6 separate regions of the Homo sapiens genome follow, and all the other regions are linked to region 1. Evidence: promoter capture Hi-C in 16 types of primary human blood cells and fetal thymus (Javierre and others, 2016). All regions are on one chromosome and are shown on one strand. Each heading gives the region's core, a stretch centred on a gene start or on the middle of the fragment in contact. The rest is flanking DNA. Distances are from core to core; before and after follow the strand shown.

What was found. The method cuts DNA at HindIII sites, captures the fragments that hold promoters and counts their contacts. A CHiCAGO score of 5 or more calls a contact.
Region 2: a contact is called between the fragment with the promoter of HDDC3 here and the fragment with the promoter of CHASERR in region 1, in 1 of 17 cell types (erythroblasts). The highest score is 9.2, in erythroblasts.
Region 3: a contact is called between a fragment that was not itself captured here and the fragment with the promoter of CHASERR in region 1, in 1 of 17 cell types (fetal thymus). The highest score is 8.6, in fetal thymus.
Region 4: a fragment that was not itself captured here is called in contact with the fragment with the promoter of CHASERR in region 1 in 1 of 17 cell types (M0 macrophages); the score reaches 6.2 in M0 macrophages.
Region 5: a fragment that was not itself captured here is called in contact with the fragment with the promoter of CHASERR in region 1 in 1 of 17 cell types (erythroblasts); the score reaches 5.9 in erythroblasts.
Region 6: a fragment that was not itself captured here is called in contact with the fragment with the promoter of CHASERR in region 1 in 1 of 17 cell types (erythroblasts); the score reaches 5.6 in erythroblasts.

The regions. Positions count from the first base shown.
Region 1 is chr15:92,881,593-92,885,368 of GRCh38, reverse strand. CHASERR (CHD2 adjacent suppressive regulatory RNA) reads right to left here and starts at 2,526. Exons shown (of 6, transcript NR_037601.1): 1 at 2,183-2,526; 2 at 1,591-1,784. RefSeq lists silencers at 1,800-2,049, 2,670-2,799 and enhancers at 2,043-2,684, 3,110-3,199. The HindIII fragment of the contact is 7,161 bases long and covers 1-3,776 here.
Region 2 is chr15:90,930,750-90,934,525 of GRCh38, reverse strand. It overlaps HDDC3 (HD domain containing 3), which reads left to right and starts at 1,977. Exons shown (of 4, transcript NM_001286451.2): 1 at 1,977-2,097; 2 at 2,416-2,471; 3 at 2,582-2,822; 4 at 3,121-3,776. The coding sequence starts at 1,986. The coding sequence ends at 3,251. It also overlaps a transcript of UNC45A not described here. RefSeq lists enhancers at 56-155, 1,780-1,829, 2,580-2,809. The HindIII fragment of the contact is 1,585 bases long and covers 620-2,204 here.
Region 3 is chr15:90,989,513-90,993,288 of GRCh38, reverse strand. All of the region lies in intron 1 of PRC1 (protein regulator of cytokinesis 1), which reads left to right. Among named protein-coding and RNA genes, the nearest start is that of PRC1, 3.1 kb to the left of the region's middle. The HindIII fragment of the contact is 7,498 bases long and covers 1-3,776 here.
Region 4 is chr15:94,293,981-94,297,756 of GRCh38, reverse strand. The region is part of intron 1 of MCTP2 (multiple C2 and transmembrane domain containing 2); the gene reads right to left. Among named protein-coding and RNA genes, the nearest start is that of MCTP2, 64 kb to the right of the region's middle. The HindIII fragment of the contact is 2,604 bases long and covers 366-2,969 here.
Region 5 is chr15:94,256,174-94,259,949 of GRCh38, reverse strand. All of the region lies in intron 1 of MCTP2 (multiple C2 and transmembrane domain containing 2), which reads right to left. Among named protein-coding and RNA genes, the nearest start is that of MCTP2, 27 kb to the right of the region's middle. The HindIII fragment of the contact is 3,628 bases long and covers 227-3,776 here.
Region 6 is chr15:94,224,768-94,228,543 of GRCh38, reverse strand. No RefSeq gene overlaps it. Among named protein-coding and RNA genes, the nearest start is that of MCTP2, 4.9 kb to the left of the region's middle. The HindIII fragment of the contact is 5,783 bases long and covers 1-3,776 here.

The DNA.
Region 1 (3,776 bases), core at 1,277-3,776:
TATACATTTATGGTTGCAGTTATTTCTTATCTTAGTATCTATCAGTCTTTGTTTTCCTCATCTTTTGGCTGTATTGACCAATGCTAAAGATTAACGCATTGAATTAAACAGAAATACAGAAAATTCAAATTTTTGGACTGATTTAAGATTATGAACCTTTTTTTTTTTACTTTCCCTCTTTTTATGACAGGCAATAAACAAAGAAAAAGTTTACCATTCTTCAAGACAAATCATCTTAACATCTCCCTTACCATCCGGAAGTATGTTTTACAATCATGAGCAATTAAAAATTAGCTCCTCCAAGAGAAATTAGTGAAGTTAAAATGGCCACTGGTTACTTTAAATTTTAAACCACAAGTTACTTGATCTCACCAAGTGGGATACTAGCTTTGTCTCTAAAGCTACTCTAAAACTTACAGTATCTAGACCTTTACACTCAATTTCAAATCAGGGTCTTCAACATTTTCATTTCAGTCTTTCTCCTCCCCCATTTATCATGTAAAAAGATCTTTCAGGTTAAACTGCTAACAATTATTTTGCATTTCACAATTCAAAGAGGATTCTAAAGAACTAGATTCAGAATATTCATTTAAAACCACTTTCAGTGTTCAAAAATTTCAGAAACATTGATTTGAAAAACCAAAATTGGTACTTAAGACAGATTCTGTAAAATCAAGATATGCGCAACTGATGTAACATGTACCACTATAGGAAGGCTACTCAAAAAATAAAACAATTTTACTGGAAAAATGCCCTTAGAAATATGGTCGAATAAACCAGTATCTGATTTCAGATGTACTATGTAAGTCTGCCCAACACTATTTTTACGTAGTTCTGCACCTTTACAACACAAGAGCTCCGCAGAATGAAGACAAATATATTCTAAAATACACAAAGGTTTGTGCGCTTCTGGTTTGTTCTTCAAACCACTACACTTAAAAATTACCCTTCCAACATTTTTCTAAGATTAGAGACTATACAGAGAACTCTACTAAATTTTATGAAACCTGTACTTTTAAAATACTGTTCCGTTTTAAGCATATCTAGATTTTTATACATGCAACAAATGCAACAAATATGGCTCCTCTTCATCGCCCATTACCGAGAGCAGTCCTACTTTATTCATATTTACATTACGAGAAAGTAACTTCAGGAAGAGATTTGGTGTCAGAATGTTCTTTTGTGAAAGTTTTTCGATCATGGCTTGTGATAATATAAATTCTTAAAAATAATTAAATTATGAACTTTTAAAGACTAGGAATTGACCCAAGTACGTTCTAACATTCAGGTGTGAGAAGTTGCAGATAACGGCTCCTTGAGACCTTTTTAAAAAGTACCAAACAGTGTATTTAATCATATTTAAATATCAGGAGATCAAATGATCTTGGCGTCATTACTCGGTAAAATAAACTACATTAACCAAACGTCATCAGCTAGCTAGCACCGTAATTATCAAATCTATTTCCATTAAACAGCCTTGACGACACAGTAAACTTGTCTTCGTAATTCTGAAATACCAGAAGCACTCCTCCAACTTGCATTTTTCAAAGACAACCTTAACGTCATAAAGGTTTAATAAGCAGCAAGTACCTTCGCATGTATCACTGCAGCCGTTTCAAAATCGGCTTTGAAAGAGTTAAAAGCCAACACCCAATAGGAGGGAAAAAAACAAGTTTTATTTTTGTTGAAACGTAGTCAGGGTTCCATTGTTCTTTTAAATTCGATCATGAAGATGAGTTCCCACCTCACCGGAAAGAGGTTAAAAAGCTCCTCCGTTGGAGAACCTGAAAGGGATTTTTTTACCCTAAATATCAAAATAACTCACCAGGACAGAAAGGGGCTCTCCACGCCCGATCCCCTTCGGGCTCTCGCCGGCATTCACCCGCCGCCCCTTTCCCGGCGGATCCAGTCCCGGCGACGAGGCTGCCCCCCGCCCACCTGCCGCCCGCGGGCTCTGCAGCGGGGCCCCGCGTGCCCCCTACCCCAGGACCCTACGACTCGGGCCCAGGGCACCGAGGCGCATCCCGCCGGCGAGAGCCGGCCCCCGACCACGGAGGGGCAGTGCGAGAAGAGCCGAGCGGCGAGGCCCGGCCCGCCGCCCCCTCCTGCTCGCGCGCTCAAGGACATTTTGCTTTTCCTCCCAAGGACAAAGGACAATAAAAGGAGCTAGGGAGCCACTCACCGGGTCCGAGCGCGGCCACCGGCACCTCCTGGTCGCCCAAACCCGAGTCCCGGGCCGGACCGCCCGCCCGAGCCTCCCGCCCGCGCCGGGTCCAGCCGCCGGGGCCCGGGGGAGCCTCCGAGGCGGCAACCGCAGCGGCGCTTTCGGCGTCGTGGGCCCGGCCGCCCTGGGCGCCTCTGCCGCGGGCTGTGACGCCGACGCGCGCGGCCCGCCTCGCCTCAGCCGCGGCAGCCCCACTCCCGCGGGCCTGCTGGCCGTCCGGGCGTAGCTCCCCGCCGGCCGGCGGGCCTCGCGGCCGCGGCGGAACGCCTGACAGCTCGGGGTGCTGCTGCCTCTCCGGCCATCTTGTGCCGTGTGTGTGGTGTCTCTCTCCCGTCTCCTCTCTAGGCTTTACTCCCTCCTCCTCCTCCCCCCGCCCCACACACCACACAACATGGCCTCTTCGCTGCGGCGGCAGCGGCTGCGGCGGCGGCAGGAGCTCCGCCGCGCTCCAGCCCGCTCCCCTCCCCCACCATCCCCGCCTCCCGCCCGCAGGCCCGGGGGCCAACGCGCACGCGCGCCGCCGCCCGCCCGCCGCGGCCATTGGCTCCACGAGCTTCCTGCATCCCCTATCCGGGAGCGGCCTCACGCACGTTAGCTGGCGTCTTCCTCCCTCCCAACAACAACTTCTTCCATTCTATTGGTTAATTTCAACACCACCCCTTCCGCCTCCTTCGTGCGGATAGGCTGGCCTTAGTGCCATTCACTGTCCGTAGGCGTTTCTGGTTTTCTTGAGAAGCCCCGGGCCACGATTGGCTGGTGATGGAACCTTTGGGGTTGGAGCTGAGCTGTTGCTTTTTTCCCCGCAGTGCGGACCCCTCCAGGCTAGCTGGAGGGTTCCTGGTATGGTCTAGGCCAGGCTAGAATGGTTAGTGCAGGGTCGCACAAATAGTGGATTCGCGTCTAGAAAAAGCTCTGGCTTCGGTGTTTCTAGGTTCAGATTTTGTCTTTAAAAAAAGGGAAAGAAAAAAATGACTGACAGGATGATGAGCAAACAAGATACAGGCCCACAGCCCTTGGGCAAGCAGCCATATCCTCAAAATATTTGTTCTAAGCACCCAGGCCTTCCATGAAGGTCACACAGTCAGGACCAATGGTTTTACCATCAGCACATTCCCTAGCCCCAGTATCCGAGTTGAGATGCGATTTATTTGTGGATTTGTAGACTGCCTGTTGCGCATTTACCTGAGAGCCTAAAAGAATGTCTAGTGTCTTGTGAGCTGTCGTCATGGAAATCAAAAAAAACAATTAAAAAGAATGTCCAGTGTCCTGAGGCCTTAGCGAATCAATCTCAATACCGGTTGACTGGATTCCACCCTGTAGGACAATGTTTGTTAGAGTAGCAGTTTGAACCTGAAAAATCATAGTCTACCTTTTCAACCTCCTTCCAGAGAACCAGGCAAAACAAGTTTCATTTGCTTTCGGCAAATCTCACTTTTTTTTCGTTACTTCTTCCTACTTTAACGTGGAAACAACTCTAAGAAGACCATAGGAAAAAAATGAAAACCTAAACTTTCCTGAAATGGATGGGGAAAAAAAAAAGAGGTAGCTCTCT
Region 2 (3,776 bases), core at 728-3,227, 2.0 Mb after region 1:
GCGGACAGATTGACTTGGTACAGGGCCTCAAATTCAGCCCGGGTGCAGCAGGAGCCCCCTGCAGCCTGCAGGTGGCAGCAGTAGGCTTCCTCTGGAGAATCAGACAGACGAGGGCAAAAGAAACCAGGGTAGTGACGGCCATGGACATCCCGGGTGGTCTGGCACAAGTGAGGGTGGTGGACCAGAGCTGAAGAGAGAGGTGGGGGTGCTAGAGACAAGCAGGAGGGGCCTTTCCACAGCTCACTCCACCCCTACTGGAGAGTAAAAGAGATCAGCCCCTACCAGAAGAAAAGATGCCCTTCCACCCATCCCCATCAGTTCCAGTTCCCAGGAATAGCCCATAGCACCAGAGGCAGGTGGGCCACAGGGGTAAGTGCTGTACCTGAGAGAGAGGTTGGCTGGACAAGGGTCACCCAGCTGAAGAGCAGCAGTAGCCCCACAGATAGGCCTGTCAGCAAGGGGCCTGACCTTCTCTGGATGCCCATGAGAGTTCACTACCACCTCTGTCCTGGTCCTGGGAACCCCAACATCTCTCTTTCTAGGCCGTGACTGCAGACAATAAGGAAATAAAAGTCAAAGCCCCAAGGCCCTTGGGCACCATTAATACGAGCCTGAAGCTTCTCTATCACAGGCTTTTAGAGAGAGATGACAGGGACTGGGTTTCTGTCTCCTGTTGGAAAACGTGGGGCCTGCATTGCCAAACTGCTGAAGGAGAGAAGGCTCAAAGGACTAGAGGACAGAATGAGGGATGAGAGAGCAGCTGAGCCATTAGTATGAAGAACAAACAAGCATTTACAGCCAAATATGTTTCTACCCATTCTCCAACTTCCAGGCTGCCATGGAAGCTCTGGGAATTCTGACCCTCCTATTTCAGGTCCCAGAGACCTCAGTTCCAGCATGTGGGGCTTCCCTCCCTAACCTCTGCTACGTGGCAACCACCAAGACTAGCTGAAAACCAAGGGTGACTCCTTTCATTAGCCTTTCCCCTGAGCCTTATCTGCCCCAGCTACCAGCCAGAACACAAAAGCTACATGTCTGATTAGAGTATACTTAGCTAATAGGGAACCCCCTCTCACAGAGAAGTTCTATGGGGATCACCAGGTCTCTCTTACCCCTCAGCTGCCCCTAAGGCAGGGAATTTCTCCAGAAGGCCACCAGCCAGCAGAATTAAGTGTTATTCCAGTGCCTACCCAGGCCTGACAACATCATGCTCCCAGGACAGCAGTGACAACACTCATCACCCCAGGGGCCCACAGAAGATGCCTAGAGACTGAAATAGGAGCTCTCATAGCATAAGAAGACAAGGCAAATTTCATCTGCAACACTGAGGACAAACAAAGGCAGTTCCTGCAGAAACGTCACAGCTACCTGGGAGCCTAAGTCTGAAGCAATTAGGCAGGGCTCCCAGGGAAGGCTCTGATTTTTCAGGTCAGGCCCTAGGGTCTCCTGGAGGGTCCAAAGGTAGACTCCCCTGCCCACAGAACCTGGCCCATCCCTACAGGGAGAACTATTTTTAGAACACTTGGAGAATTTTCAGAGCTTTTACAGGTTGAAGATGGTTCTTGGGGGGAGCTTCTGGGAGAAGCTGTCTCTGACTCTGAGGGTGTGGGGATTGTTCTTTCTTCCCGCTCCCATAGTCCCCTGAGCCTTGGCCACCCTGGATTCAGAGCACTGTGAGGCCACTGCCTTATTTCTTGTCTGTCTTCCTCTTTTCCACAGACTGTGGGCTCCCAAAGAGCCAGGCTTATGTTCTTCTTGCACCCCCAACAGAGCACACTGAGCTGGGGGCTGCGATGCTGAAGGCAGCTGTCCACATCACTTGCTCTCTGCGCGGGCCGGTCAGCTCCAGAGGAATTCATCTGGGGCAGGCCCAACTCGGCCCGCTGAATTAGCCTCCACGATCCCCGGGCCTCCCCGGCGCCAGGGGGCGCTGTAAACGTTCCGTCCCTGCCCCTGCGGCCGCAGTCGTCGGCCCCATCCGCGCGATGGGCTCTGAGGCGGCGCAGCTGCTGGAGGCTGCCGACTTCGCGGCTCGCAAGCACCGGCAGCAGCGGCGGAAGGACCCCGAGGGGACCCCCTACATCAACCACCCCATCGGTGGGCGCGTCGGCCGCGGAGCGCCGGCTGCGGCACCTGGGTGGTGGGGACTGGGAAGGAAACGTGGGGGGCGTGCACCTCATTGAGCACCTGTTTTGTCCCAAGCTTAGTGCGATATACCGTTTAAGCCTCATAACAATTGGAACGGTAGGCATGATCGTTCCCTTTGTCGGTTGGCTCCCAGAGGGTAAGGTACTTGACCAAGGTCACCCAGCTAGTCAGAGTCCACAAGGGGCCACATCTGGCTCTCCAAAACCCACAACACACCGCCTTGGGACTACCTCCGACCTGACTTCCTGCTTTGCCCCTCCCCGTCAGGTGTGGCACGGATCCTGACCCACGAGGCGGGAATCACTGACATTGTGGTGTTACAGGTAACTTTCCCCCTTCTCTGCCAGGAGCCTGGGATGGGGATTAGGGGCCCCATTCAGCAATGGGCAACCCTTGGCTGACATCTCAGGGCTGAGTGGGAACTTGTCCCCAGGCGGCCCTGCTCCATGACACGGTGGAGGACACAGACACCACCCTGGATGAGGTGGAGCTACACTTTGGGGCACAAGTGCGGCGCCTGGTGGAGGAGGTAACAGATGACAAGACTCTGCCCAAGCTGGAGAGAAAGAGGCTGCAGGTGGAGCAAGCGCCCCACAGTAGCCCCGGGGCCAAACTGGTGAAGCTGGCAGACAAGCTGTACAATCTGAGGGACCTGAATCGCTGCACCCCAGAGGGTACGCTTTCGTATGGGCTGTAAGGGAAAAGGGAGGGGGATGCCGCCTTCTGAAGACACATGTTGGTCAGTTCCCCTGAAAAACCCTGGGCATTCTTAATTCCCAAATTAATCCTACTGGACCACTCTTTGATCTTCTTTCATACAGTAAAAATACAATAGCTGGGCCAAGGGGAAGTTTTCAGGACAGCTCATTCCATCAGGAACTCATGGCCTTGAACCAAGCTTGCCAGGAAGTGGGGAAAAGGCAGTGCTTTCCTTGACATCACGCTAGCAAGTTTCTGTCGACTCTTATGCAGGATGGTCAGAACATCGAGTCCAGGAATACTTCGAGTGGGCAGCGCAGGTGGTGAAGGGGCTTCAGGGAACAAACCGGCAACTGGAAGAGGCTCTAAAGCATCTGTTCAAGCAGCGGGGGCTGACAATCTGATCAGTGCTTGAAGCTATCCAGAGGCACAACTCCAGCCTCGTTCAGGCCGGACAGGATTCATACGCCATCTTTTCTGTGTCTCCTGAGCTCCCTCCATCCTTCCCAGATATTAGAGGCCAAAAAAAGACTTGCATTTTTTCTCAGTCTGAAGGTCTCCTGCTAACTAAGCTGAGCCCCGCGTGGTGGGAATCAGATGTACCCATCCATTTCTGATGCACTCACCGCCTCTCCCCAAGTCTTGGGTCTGTTTGCTATTTTGCATGGTGGGATCTCTGGCCCCTCAGGGACTTGAGATTATTTAAGTACTAGTTCCTAACACGTTCTGGAAAATAAAAATAACTCTGGGTTAAGGTTTAAGCTGCTGCTGCTCCTTCTCCAGCCTCCGACTGGTGGGCTGCATATCTTTCCTTCAGCAAAGCAGGACTAATTGTGTGTCCCGGAGTCACCTCCCTCAGGTTGCGGGCCTCAACCCCTCCGAACCTGGCTTCCTTGTCAGTGACATGGGTTGTGTAATTATCAGGTTAG
Region 3 (3,776 bases), core at 812-3,311, 1.9 Mb after region 1:
TGCATGAGCCGACATCTCGACACTGCACTCCAGCCTAGGCGACAGAGTGAGACTACGTCTCAAAAAAAAAAAAAAAAGTCCATTAACAGTTTATGAATTATGTAGGCATCTCCTCTATCAAGGGATTGAATGAAGCAGGAGAAAACTTACCCTTTAATGTTGGTTCCAGGCTAATGGATATAATTAACTTTTTTTTTTTTTTTTTTTTTTTTTTTTTTGAGACGGGGTCTCACTCTGTCGCCCAGGCTGGAGTGTAGTGGCGAGATTGCTCACTGCAGCTTTGACCTCTGAGGCTCAAACGAAACTCTGGCCAGAATTAATTATGGTTATCGATCCCCGAAACAGGTTGAACTGGAGATCAACAAAGCTCCTTCTCTGGAATGCTAAGAAAAAATAGGGCAGTGGATCAGTGAAGGCTGCCTGAAGGTAGAAAATAATTTAAGGACCACTGTGAGATACCTTCCAGTCCAGTGATTTATGTTCAAGACTGGAAAAACTGACTCATTTTACAACCTTTTTGTCCTTGAGTGGTAGTCTTTGTATGCACTCTTGATTTTTTTCAGTGAATCTAAAAAAAAAACTCAGACTTGCTGCTTTTAGGGGATTATCTGAAACAATTTAGCCAGGGAGTATTTAAGTGTATCATGATAATTGTTCATAATGATTGCTCTGAAGCATCTTAAGATCATACAACTTTTTTGAAATGTCACGTTATTCATTCAAAAAGACTTCTTGGGCCTGGCACAGTGGCTCACACCTGTAATCCCAGCACTTTGGGAGGCCAAGGTGGGAGGATGACTTGAGCCCAGGAGTTCAAGACCAGCCTGGGCAACATAGCAAGACCCTGTCTCTATTTAAAAAATAATAATTTATACTAAAAAAGAAAAGAAAAATACTTCTTGAATGTTTGTTATATACAAGGAACCATTGCAAGTGTTGGGGATATAGCAGTGAGCAAAAGTGACATCCCTGCCCTCACAGAGTTTATATTCTAATAGCAAAAGAGGAGTGTAATAAATAAGTTAGTCTTAAATGGTGGTAAGTGCTATGTAGAGAAATCAAGAGGTTAAGAAGTACTGAAGGTGTAGGAAGGGGGGTTGTGGTTTTAAAGAGATGGGTCAGGAAAGGCCTCCCTGAGAAGGTGATCTCTGAGCAAAGACCTAAGAAGGAAAAGGGTGAAGCCATGCAGCATGGGGGAAAAGAGATCTAGGTAGAGGAATCAGCAAATCCAAGTGCCCTAAGGGGAGATAGCGCCTGGTATGTTCCAGAAAGAGCAAGGAGGTCGCTGTGACAGGAATAGAATGAGCACTGAGGTCAAAAGAAATGGCTTTCAGATGGAATGGGGCTCCATAGGTCTTTGGAAAGTCAGAGGCTTTTCCTTAGAGTGAGATGGCAAGTCGTTGGAGGGTTCTGAGTAGAAGATTAGGACTTGGGGCTCCTGTGTTGACAATGGACTTAAGGAGGCCAGCTTCGAAGCCGGGAGACCAGTTAAGAGGCCCCTGCCATACAGCAAGAAGTTGGTGGTGGTGACCTGGACCAGGGTGGGGGTGGTAGTGGTAGCAGCAGAGGTCAGGAGGAGTGAGATTCTGCCTGTCTTGTGTAGATAATGCTAATGGCGGGCATATAAGAAAGAAGTGTCAAGGATGATACAAGATTTAAGTTTAAAAAAAAAATTAAGTTCAGTACAATTTGAATGTTAGGAAGAGTGAGAAATGTTAGTTTTTAATTTGAAAATGATCCTCTTACAGGAAGTGTCTCTAACTAGAATAATAATAATGGGTGTTTGGTAATTCCAAACACCCATTTCCAACAGGCCAAATAAAATACGTTATATATTAGTAAAATTTTTATTTCTTTTTTTTTTTGGAGACAGTCTTGCTCTGTTGCCCAGGCTGGAGTGCAATGGCATGATCTCAGCTCACTGCAACCTCCGCCTCCTGGGTTCACCGGGTTCAAGTGATTCTCCTGCCTCAGCCTCCTGAGTATCTGGGATTACAGGCACCCACTACCACGCCCAGCTAATTTTTGTATTTCTAGTAGAGATGGGGTTTCACCATGTTGGCCAGGCTGGTCTCGAGCTCCTGATCTCAGGTGATCCGCCCGCCTTGGCCTCCCAAAGTGCTGGGATTGCACACGAGCCACCGCGCCCGGCCATAGTAAAAATCTGTAAGTTTTTCAATTAAGTCACAAATCAAAAACATTTCAGATTATGGGCCGGGCACAGTGGCTCACGCCTGTAATCCCAGCACTTTGGGAGGCCGAGGCGGTCGGATCACGAGGTCAGGAGTTTGAGACCAGCCTGACCAACATGGTGAAACCCCGTCTCTACTAAAAATACAAAAATTAGCCGGGCGTGGTGCCGTGTGCCTGTAGTCCCAGCTACTCAGGAGGCTGAGGCAGGAGAATCGCTTGATCCCAGAAGGCAGAGGTTGCAGTGAGCTGAGATCACACCATTGCACTCCGGCCTGGGTGCCAGACTGAGACTCTGTCTCAAAAAAAGAAAAAAAAAAGAAACCAAAAATGTTTTAGATTATGTGCCAAGATGTTTTTAATAACAGCTTTGAGGTATAATCCACATACCATACAATGTACTTAAATTGTATATTATAATTCAGTGATTTTTAGAATATTCAGAGTTGTGCAATCATCACTGCAATCAATTTTAGAACATTTTTATCACCCCTTTAAAATCCCATTAGCAGTCAATCCCCTTTCACCCCATGGTCCAAATTCTCCCCAGCCGCAACTACAAATCTACTTTTCGGCTAGGCAAGGTGGCGCACACCTATAATTCCAGCACTTTGGGAGCCCAAGGTGGGAGGACTACTTGAGCCCAGGAGTTCAAGAACAGCTTGGGCAACATAGAGAGACTCTACCTCTTAAAAAAAAAAAAAAAATTATTTATTTATTTATTTATTTATTTTATTTTTTATTTTATTTTATTTTATTTTTTGAGATGGAGTCTCACTCTGTCACCCAGGCTGGAGTGCAGTGACGTGATCTCAGGTCACTGCAACCTCCACCTCCCGGATTCAAGCAATTCTCCTGCCTCAGCCTCCCGAGTAGCTGAGATTACAGGTGCCCACCACCACACCCAGCTAATTTTTGTATTTTTAGTAGAGACGGGGTTTCACCATATTGGCCAGGCTGGTCTCAAACTCCTGACCTCGTGATCCGCCGGTCTTGGCACCCAAAGTGCTGGGATTACAGGAGTGATCCACCGCACCCGGCCTAAAAAAAAATTTTATTGTTTAAGTTAGCTGGGTGTGGTGGCTCACATCTGTAGTCCCAGCTACTCCGGAGGCTCAGGTGGGAGGATCACCTGAGCCTAGGAAGTTGGGGCTGCAGTGAGCCATGATCATGTTACTGCACTCCAGCCTAGGTGAAAGAGGGAGACCCTGTCTCAAAAAACCATACAAACCCCAAATCTACTTTTTACCTATTCTGGATATTTCATAAAAACGGAACCGTAGCTCTGGTCTTTTGTGACTTGCTTCTTTGACTTAACATAATGTTTTCAAGGTTTATTGCCAAATAATATTCCATTGTATGCCTATATACTACATTTTATTTACCCATTCATAAGTTGATGGCCATTTGTATTTTTTTTTTCACTTTTTGGCTATTATAAGTAATGCTGCTATAAACAGTTGTGTAGTTTTTGTATAAATGTGTTTTCATTTCTTTTGGGCAAATACCCAGTAATAAAATTGCTGAGTTGTATGAACTCTGTTAAACTGAGGGGCCGGGTGCAGTGGCTCATGTCTGTTATCCCA
Region 4 (3,776 bases), core at 418-2,917, 1.4 Mb before region 1:
TTTTAGACTTGGTGGGCCAGATGGTGTCTGTCGCTACTACTCAACTCTGCTGTGCGACATCAAAGGAGACAGACAGAATACCTAAATGAAAGAATGTGGCTGTGTTGTAATAAAACTTTGCAAACCCAGCAGACTGTGGCTTGCTGATCCCTGCTTTAACCATGTCAACTTCCTTCCCAGAATTAAGTGTACGTTTTCAAGAACAAAAACATGGCCCTATCGACTAGGATTCCATCTAGTATCTTTCAAATTTATATTCACATACAGGTGATTAGAGCAAAACACATTTATAAAAATGTGAGTTTTGTTCTTATTCAGAAGAAATGACAAAATTCCCATAATGAAGCCCTTAAACAAAGCAAGCTTCTGAGATGTAGCCTGAGAATGTGAATGAAAGTGTGGCTCACTAGCAGTTGGTTATGAGGGATAAGGATGCTTCACACATACAGTAAATACGTAATTACAGAGTAGGGTAAATGCTGTGGAGGAAAGTGGTGATTTGGGATATAACAGGTTGAACTCATCACGGATCAAATCAAAATCAAATTTGCAGAAATAACCCTTATTTTATGTGTCACATGCCTCATAATAAATCCTTTCAGTATGAAAAAGAACAGGATGGGCAGACACTGAGACCTGGCCTGTTTGTATTTTGCCACATTTGGCTGAGGCCAAAAGAGGCCAAGAGCTTCCACAAATCACATTTTCTAAAATCAAGGACCCTGGCTGTTGTGCCCCACCCCAGCTCCTTCAAGGAGAGGACAGTTTATCATTGTGAAGAATGGTCCAGAGAGCCAGAGATCAGGGTGTGTGCAGCCATTTGCCTGCTAAAAGTCAGGACTTTGTCTCTATAGCCCTTGCCTAATGACCAGCGCATGACAAGAGCTTCTCCCAGGATGAACTTGGTATCTTCTGCAGACAATGTAAAGATTAAGAGCTTGGCCTCTCAAAACAGACTCCATGGGTTACAATTCTGATTTACTCTGTTCTACTTAGAGGTAGGACCAGGTGCAAGTCACTTCACTAAGCCTCCATTGCCTCACCCACCCAGTGGGGACGAGATTACCTAGTTTACAGATACGATGACACAAAGTAGAAAGCACAGTGTCTGATGCTTTAAAGTGCTCAGACACAGAAAGGTGTCTCTATCATTATTCTCATCATTTCTTGTTTGGATATCTTAATCAAGTTATGTAAGAGTTCTGTGTCTCACTGTTATTCCCATGTTACAGATGAGTTTAACAGTAAGTACCTCGGGAGGCTGCGGTGAGGACTGAATGGACTAATACACAGAAAGTGCTTTGGTATCTAGAACAGTGCTAGGTATGGAGTAAATGTTTAATACAATGTTAGCGACTTTTAAAATTGTTTCAATTACTTTGTATTGGGTCATTTTGGCTTTAAATGTTTAAAATAGTTTACAACTTTTTTTGCAGCTTTTAAAAACGTTATCCTAAACAGAAACTTGAATTTCACGTTAGCAATACGCAAGTACATTCAATTCACATCTCATAACTTGACTTGCAAATACGATAAAAGGCATTGCTTCTATTTTCATATAGCAATATTTTCCTTCAATTAGCATTTAATGAAGGAGAGTAGGGTAGCACTCTATGGAGACCTGGGAGGAATCTGTAAGAAATGGGAAGTGTCAAACCAGCTAATACAACCAGAGGACCCACAATGTGACAGGTACTATGAGAAACTCAGGACACAGAGCAGAGTCTTGAAAAAATGTATCATGTATGTGGAAATTAAAACAATGCAATTGAGACATCTGAGAAAAAGAATTTATACAAATTCCACACTAATTACAACCAGACAGAATTTTTTTTTTTTTTGAGTCAGGGTCTCACTCCAGTTGCCCAGGCTGGAGTGCAATGGCACGATCACAGCTCACTGCGGCCTCGAACTCCTGGGCTCAAGCGACCCTCCCAGTTCAGCCTCCCAAATAGCTGGGACTACAGACACACGCCACCATGCCCAGCTATTTTTTTGTACAGATAGAATTTTTGACAGAAGAAACATTTTGATGAACTAAAAATCTAAAGCTGAAAGAAAAAATATTTAAATAACTGAAAAGTCCGTTGTAAAGAAAGTAATATATATGGAAAACATAAAAATGGAGAAGGTGGCCAGTACCTTCTCAGCAAAAATAATGAGATTGAAGTTTGGGAATGACCCATATGTCATGCAGCGGCTGCTGCTGAAGACTCAGCACATGTGTGAAATAAAGTATACCTGAACATAGCCCAGAGAAGCAGCACTGTGGTTTCTGTGGGAGCAGCTTCAGATGCGCTCACACAGTGGGATACTGTACAATGCTTAAAACAGTTAGGTGGAGCCATATGTGTTTCAACACAAGTAATGAGAGCTATCGAGATGGAGACAGACAGACAGATATATTACAAGTTTAAATTCCTGGCTCTATAGAATTTCTCAAAGAGGTTCCCTACAGCACCCCAAAGAGACTCATCAAGATTGTGTCTTTAAAAATACCCAGTCCCGGCCAGGTGTGGTGGCTCATACCTGTAATCCCAGCACTTTGGGAGGCCAAGGCGGGTGGATGGCTTGAGGTCAGGAGTTCGAGACCAGCCTGGCCAACATGGCAGAATCCCATCTCTACTAAAAATATAAATAATTAGCCAGGTATGGTGGTTCATACCTGTAATGCCAGGAACTGAGAGGCTGAGGCACAAGAATTGCTTGAACCGAGGAGGCGGAGGTTGCAGTGAGCTGAGATTGCGCCACTGCACTCCAGCCTGGGTGATGGAGTAAGACTGTCTCAAAAAAAAAAAAAAAAAAAAAAAAAAAAGGAAAAGAAAAGAAAAATAAAGAGAAAAAAGTTTCAAAATAAATAAATATAAATAAAAGTAGACAGTCCTGGGCTCCACCACAGGAGATGAACGTGAGTCCCAAGAATCTGCCTTCCAACCAATCTCCCTGGTGTTACTGTGCAGATCAAAGCTTAGGAATCCTAGGGGAGAGGCTTACATTCCCCTTTGAGGGAAATCTCCTATTTGGAAGGGAGACTGGGAATGGGAATCAGCCTCTTATGAAATGAAGAGGTTTGTAATCTGTGTATCTAAGCAAACCAAAAACATCTCCAAGAAAATGAGAAAAGGAGTTGCTGTAAACAAAGTTGCATCTCTAAAGAATGTGTCTAAGTGGAAAAATGTTTATCTTCTCCATGCACTACACTGTCCTGTGCCAGGAGTCAGTCTCCTTTATTTGAGGGGGTGAAGCTGGTAGGAATGCACGTATTACTGGTACATTATAATATATTCAAGAGAAATTCAAGTAGAAAGCAGGGATATACCTAACCCCTGGACACTGGAACCACCAGTTTCACCATCTTTGTTTTGTTAAGAAATGACTTTTTCAACTTTATTTTTGAAATCATTCTAAAACAAAATTGGCTTTTTTCTCACTTTTGGTGCACAGTTCTATAATGTTAACACATTTACAGATTTGTGTTTACACCATCACAATCGGGACACAGAGGGGTCTGTCTATCCCCAAAGGATCACGCGCTCCCAGGCCCCCACTTCCTTCCTCTGCAAACCACCGTTCTATTCTCTATCACTATCATTTTGTCTTTCGGGGAATGTTTTCTAAACGGAATCACACAGTATATAACTTTTAGAGACAGGCTTCTTTCACTCAGCACGTTACCTTTGAGATTCATCCAGTTGCTGCACATGTCAGTAGTTGAACTTTTTGTTGCTGACAGTAGTAGTCTATTGTGTGGATGTACCACAATTAATCTATTTACC
Region 5 (3,776 bases), core at 791-3,290, 1.4 Mb before region 1:
TACATGGTGATGTGGAGGGCATTCAGTGCACAAGGGTGAGACTAAGCCATCTGCTATTCCTGTCCAAACAATAACAATAGTTTACAAATGACTGAATCAGGACAGGCGCACTCTTCCCTACAGTAGAGACCTGGGGAAGCCTTTACAAGCGATCATGTCCATCAAAAAGCAGTATCCTTCACCAAATGATCATACAGCAATAACCTGAACAAAAGGGCAACAAGCTTCAAAGTAGAAATAATCATCACAGAGGTTAAACCAACCTTGGGCCAGGTTTGTTTTTGGAGTTCAGAAATTTAAGAATTTAGAGAGTGTATCATATATTACACAATACCCTAAATGGTTTGGAGACAGTATTTCATCATCAAACATATCACAATTCAAACTTAATGGGATATATAACTACTACATAGAACAGAAATAGTTACACAAGAGTCCAAGTCAGAGTTTGCTACCAAACCCTGGTAAGGATTCTTACAAACAAAATCCTTTCCATTTGCAAAAGTTTCTGAATTGTGAATTTTTAGATAAAAGATTTATGAACTAGCAGTTAACAGCTGCAGTAACAGAACAGCAGCAGAAATAGGAGGAGAACATCAATTTCCCCTTCCTGATCACCACTCTGCCCCAGGTGCCAGGCTGTGCACTGTAGCATGTTCTCTTTAAAGGTGAAGAATTTGGAGTTCGATGAGCTTTATTCAGGACCTTTAGCAAACTTTTCTTCCCTTAGCCTCCCTAGGCAGAGTATGAGTACTAATGGTGTGTTTTTATTCAGGTCCTGCAATCCCATGACCTGGACTAGGCTGGGTGGGGTGAAGGGGGTCCCCAGAGTGAACTGAGTGAGCATGGCCCAGGGAGAGTCCAGCATAGCCACAGAGTGTAGGAAGAAAATATTGGAACTTCCATTCACACTGACTTAATGTGTTCTTTTAATCTCTATTTTAGTGTATGCTGAATAATGTATATATATTATCAGCACCATAGTACATGTACATAATTTATAAGTAAATATGTAAACTTATATATTGGGTGTGTCTGCTCAAAAAGTACCTGCTTGATAGGGCGTATGATCAAAAGAATATGCAGAGAACAGTTCTAGAGCATCTGAATAATTAAATCCTTTAACCTGTTGGAAAACAAATAACAAAACTGCAATACCAGGAAAAGAATTTGTTTTCTCCCTTTAGGCAATAACTATTTTCAGAACTGTATCTCTCCTTTTAGAAAGAAGAATCAGGTAATGAACATAATGCAAACCAGACAAGATGAAATAGACAAGATTTTTTTGGTTTTTTGGTTTTTAGTTTTTTAAGGCAAGCGTGATTTAAATAGGGTTTTCGGTAACTACCATTGTCACCTCTACTAAATGGTGTTTCTCTTGGGAAAATTCATTAACTATTAATTTCAATAAAGGATCTCATCTGTCTCAAGTCACTCTTACATTTACAAACTACACCATGCATGCACCACTTCCTTTTTACTTACTCTGGCACATTCAAATAATTTGCATTTTCAGAAGTAGACACAGATGCTTTTTTGTGGACCCAGGTGATGGGGCAGAGGCAGGATAAAAAGATTTGCATGTCCTTTGAGAGAGGAGTCACTCATAATTAGAAAAGAAATTCAAACTCACAATATAGAAATAAATCTGTTTACCATAACCTGGGCTTAGAGAAATCTGGATAACTGAAGCATTCATTTAGTTGTGACATTATTAAGTAACCAAGGAATTAGAAACCCTCCTGGGATTTGAGCACATAAATGTTCAATATGTGGCCAGGCACAGTGGCTCACACCTGTAATCCCAGCACTTTGGGAGGACGAGACAGGCAGGTTACTTGAGGTCAGGGGTTCGAGACCAGCCTGGCCTACATGGTAAAACCTCATCTCTACTAAAAAAAAAAAAAAAAAAAAATGACATGGTGGCAGGTGCTGTACTCAGGAGGCTGACACAAGAGAATTGCTTGAACTCAGGAGATGGAGGTTGCAGTGAGCCCTGAGAAGATCGCACCACTGCACCCCAGCCTGGGCGGCAGAGCATGATTCCATCTTAAAAAAGAAAATGGGCCAGGCACGGTGGCTCACGCCTGTAATCCTGACACTTTGGGAGGCCGAGGAGGGCAGATCACAAGGTTAAGAGTTCAAGACCAGCCTGGCCAACATGGTAAAACCCCGTCTCTACTAAAAATACAAAAATTAGCTGGGCATGGTGGCACACACCTGTAATCCCAGCTACTCAGGAAGCTGAGGCAGGAGAATCGCTCGAACCTAGGAGGCAGAGACTGCATTGGGCCGAGATCATGCCGCTGCACTCCAGCCTGGGTGACAGAGCAAGACTCCGTCTCAAAAAAAAAAAAAAAAAAAAAAAAAAAAAAAAAAACAACAAAGAAAATGACAACAAATATTTTTAAAATGTGATAGTTCTGAAAAAGCCCAAACAATTTTTCTTTGTAATGCTACCAGGGCATTGTAGGGAACATACACCACTGTTACCACACGCAAAATATATGGGAGATAAGGTTGAATTTTGTCTAATCTAGCATCTACCCTCAAAATTCCTCCTTTCAATGGATGCTAGGAATCTGCTTTCAAAGCCTGACTTGGCTTCTTACAAATTCATCAACTCAGTGGTCAAATCAGACAAGGGTCCTGCCTTTGGGAAGCTAGTGTTCCCATGAGGATATATATGTTTGAAGAGGGATGAAGCCATCCCACAGAGGATGAGGGAGCATGTGAGCAGAGACTTAAGTGACAAGAATGAGAAACACTATTTGAGAAAGAGGATTCCAAAAATAGGAATGGATCCATGCAAAGCCCCAAAGCCAGAACATGTTCCTTGCTTCTAACAGCAAAGAGGTCAACAGAGCCAGATCTGCCTGATCTATCAGTGACAGAATAAGATGATGTCAGAGAAGGGATGAGGGCCAGCAAAGACTTGAGGTTTTATTTTAAGTGAATTGGGAAGTCAGGGAGGAGAGGAGGTGAAGGTTGGTCAGAGGATTGATTGATTTGATTTGTCATGGATTTTCAAAGGATCATAGTGTCTGCTGTGTGGAATATGTTCCACGCAGGACGAGTCCAAGGAAGAAGACCAGTGGAAGGAAGGAGAAGTATCAAAGGTTCTTTGATTTATGATTTGTTTCTTCATTTTTAGCTTCCTGGTTATTCAGATTTCAGCATTGCTGGAAATACAAAACTATACACCGTATCTCACATTAACCACTGCCTGTTGGGTCCACTCAGGAAAGAGGAACATGGGCAAGTTGTGCTTCTTTTCAGAAAGGTCCCTTACTTCTCTAAGTCTCTTGCTCACAGAAAAGACCCAATTCTTGTGATGGTCTGCCTTCCTGATACTCACTCATGACATCAAAATAGCCTCTCAATTTAAACAACATCATGCAAAGTTTTGCAGCTATGTACTGAGACTGGCTATCTGAAAGGAGTCCCATATTTTGTAGGAGAACAGCTTAAGGACAAAGTTTAGTATATCATCAATAAAAGTTGTTATTCATCCAACAGACATGGGGAGGAGGGTGGTATATTTTATTCCTACTACAGGTTGAGTATCCCTTATTCAAAATGCTTGGGACCAGAGTATTTCTGATTTCAGATTTTTGTAGATTTTGGAACATTTGCATATACATAATGAGATGTCTTGGGGACAGGACCCAAGTCTAAACACTAAATTAATGTTTCATACACACCTTATATACATAGCCTAAAGGTAATTTTATACAATATTTCAATAATTTTGCACATGAAACAAAGTTTCGGCT
Region 6 (3,776 bases), core at 358-2,857, 1.3 Mb before region 1:
TGTGCTTTAAGGAAGAATATGCACTCTGTTACGTGGCGTTGAGAAATGGTACTTCTTTTATTGTTAGTGCAAATAGTCTTTGTTATTATATGTACTCAGGATTTTTTTTCCTTTGGTATAATTATCATGTTATCCCCTTTTTATAGGCAGGTGTGGAGAGACCAAATTTAGTGACTCACTCCAGACCTAGCTCTGCCACTTACTAGTTACGAGTTTATCCTGTAGGCTTCACTTTCTTGAACAAAAGAATGGACCTAACAGAAAATGAGTCCTATTCTCTAATTATTCAGAAAGACTTCTTATAAAATCTCTTTGGAAATCAACATCAGCATTGAATTGTCCTAATGATGATTCTATGTATCAAGTTCTTTTCTTTCAAATACCTAAACATGTATTTAACACAAGCTGATTAGCTGGAAATGTTCACAGGTAGTAAGTTGTTCAAAGATCGACTTTTATGGATGTTGTACCTTTATTGGGTGGGAACTTTTATGGCCAAAATGAACATCTGGTAGTGGTTGCTTCTGAAAAGTTAAAATTATTAGAGGCTTGGAGTTAACTCTTAAGAGACTGAGTCTGCCATTCATTAGATGGGTAAAGAAGAACCAAATTTACTTCTTCAGATGAAGGTTAACTTTGCCCAAGATTACTATCTCAGTACCAACATTTTTGTCTGACGATCTGAATTTCATTCAGTTAATTGCTTAAAACTTCCCCTAGGCCAGGGGAGAGGTTCATACTGTAGAGAATTTCTGTGGCCCCAAATCACATTTATTGAATTGTTCTCTAGTGTGTTGTCATTGGCAATAGTGGGGGGTATCTTAAGAATCTACCTTGGGAAATACGTTGTTGAACATACATTTGGCATGTTGGTCGGGGTCATTGTTTTTTAAAATTACACTGCCTGTTTTAAGATGATCCAAGGTAGAAGTTATCACTCATCTCAGATACAAAAATCTTGAGCTTTTCCACAACAAATGGTTTGTTTGCATCTTATGGGTTCTGCAAATAACACAGTTGAATTTGTTTTCCTCTCTAATTGAGCCACTAGAATGCACAGAGTGGCTCACCTCTGGCAAGTATTCAGAAATGCTTATTTGTGCATTGCACATTACAGTTATCTGTTTTTCTACCTGTATTTTCCAAAATGAGAGATGAAACTAGGGGAATTTTCAGGACAAGAATATTTAGATAACAATCAATTCTCCATGCAAAATAAGAAGTACATTCATTGATGTATTCATTCACATAATTAGCATGTATTCATCATCTACAACCAGGACCACAAACTAGGGTGCCTACATGGGTGAGACTGGTGAAATAGAGATTGACTGTGGTCACATATAAGAAGATAGAGACTGTGGCAAATAGCAGAGAGTAGGCCCACCTAAAGACATTCAAATTTACTTATTGTTAACCCTGTGCTGGCTAAAAAATACAGGTGGCCGAAAGCCTGGCAACCAGTTTGAATCCCCTGATCCATATATTAAGCTCTGTGATAAACTCTGTGGATATAACACAAATATGATAGCTTCTGCCCTCCAATGGCTCACATTTTCGCTAGATGTGTAAACAGATAAACACAATAGAGTGTCAGAGTGAAGAGGCCTTGATAGTAGCACCTGCAGAGCCCAGCAAGTGGTGTAAAAAACCAGGTAGAAAATACACCAGAGAATCAGCAGAAACCGGGACCCCAGTCAGTCCCAAGTGATGAAAAAAGGGAGTCTTCATGGGTGAAACCTGGCTTACACAATTGAGATAAGTACAGACTCAACTGGCAGACAAAGATCAGTTCAATAAATGAAGCCAGCCATCTAGCAGTATTTCCATAATCTTAATCAGAAAATCAAAATATAGACAAATGTGGAGAAATAATAACTATGTCTATGGCTGAGGACATTAACAAATTTTGGACTTGACGTCTCCAGTCTGTCTTTGTGACTGGTTGGGATGTATAATTTGCATAAGTTTTCATTCATCCAGTCTCCCATTACTGCCTCTAATGATAACCTACAAAGAAAGTACAACATCACTAATTAATGGATTGAAAAGTAGTCAGGAAATAGACAAGGTCTTATTAAGTGCATAAGGACATTTGCAAACCAACCTGGTAGGCACCTGCCTGCTTTACTGATTTTTTTTTAGGCACGTCTTTGTAGTGACAATTGTTGCCACTTCCTGAAAAAATCCAAAGTAGAAAATAAGACAGTAAGTAATCTGACCTTAAGACTAAGTTAATTTCTTAATTTCTTAATTTCCAGTATGTGCTAAAGTTTTTCATTTTTCCTACTGAGAAATACCCAACTATAATGAAAAATTACACATTCTCTAAAGGGCTTGTTCTTTTAAAAAGTAAACTTTGATTAGGTTGAACTTCTATTCAGCTGACTTTAAAATGGAGAAGAATAAGGAAAACCTAATTCAGTCAGCACAAAAATATATTTTAGATATTTTAAAGGGAAAGGAGTAGCTTCATTTGTTAATATCAGACATCTTCTCAGTTGTAGTTTAGAACTTTCTACAGTGACCTTTGCATCCACCTTCAGTGTGGGCTGTGACCTGCCTCCTTATCCCTGATGGTTTTTGGTGAAAGTGAGCCCTACTTCATTACTTTGCAAAATGTAGTTCTATTCCAGCACCTCTCATCTGAAAACCCTGGCTTTATATTTCAAACTATGTGTACTGCTTTCATACACATTCATTGGCAAAATATGCTCAAGGAATCCACAAAACTATGAACAGAATCCTGGCTATGTGTTCATACAGCAGATTAAACTATTCTGGGTCTCTGTTAAGTTTTGTGTCTGTAATGCCTCGTTTCTGAAAGACTATCTTCTCCAGCAATGAAAACCAATCACTTCTCTTGAGAACCAACCAAATCCCAACATCATATTGTTGCACCTGAACATATTATTCGTATTTTAGTACATCACTGAAATACAATTTTGTTAAGCAATATTTCTTTGAGAGCTGGAAGTAAAGTAACAAGGAGTAGGCTCAGAGATCCACATTTAAAATGCATGTGGACACATTATCCTGCTGGCTGCCCATGTTCTAGGTAGTTCTAAAGTGCACATTTTAGCAAGATGTGCTCAGGGAGGCTCGTGTCCTCTGCAAGATAGAAACTTCCATGGTCACTTAATGATGAAACATGGCAGGCGAATAAAAGGCAGAATTAGCAGCACCATGAAAAGTGTGACTGGAAGTCAGAAGGGTGGAAATTAAAAATGGAAAATCAAGTGATCAATGAACAGTGGGGGGAAGCAAGCTGGAATTTAAATTGGCAAGACAAAACTACTATGGACCATCAGGACAAGAAGACCAGAAAGTGTGAAGATAAATAAGGTAGACAAGTCAAAAAGAACGGTCTGATTATATAAGTAATGATGATAATGAGCCCAATATAATCAAAGTTTGTACTATCTATAGTTGTAATGTAAGTCAGACAAGAAAATTGATTTTTTTCTTTGGAATCACACTTTCCTCAAGGTGTGGCTGTCACTGCAGTTTTTTGAAATACAGCAATACTCTGCTTAATGAACTACCATTGTACCTTATCCCACTATATTATTCTCTGAGAAAATATAAAAACTCTTTAGCTCATTCCTATAAGTGCAACTCAGGTGAATGCATATGCCTATTGTTATTAAGAAGAGTATAACATTAAAAAGAGTTATTTGCAAGAATTAGTGTTTTGTTTTAATATGTACCATCTACCTAACATGAGCTCTCAAAATAAAATTTGCAATTATATCTGCAGAAAATATGCTTTTTAT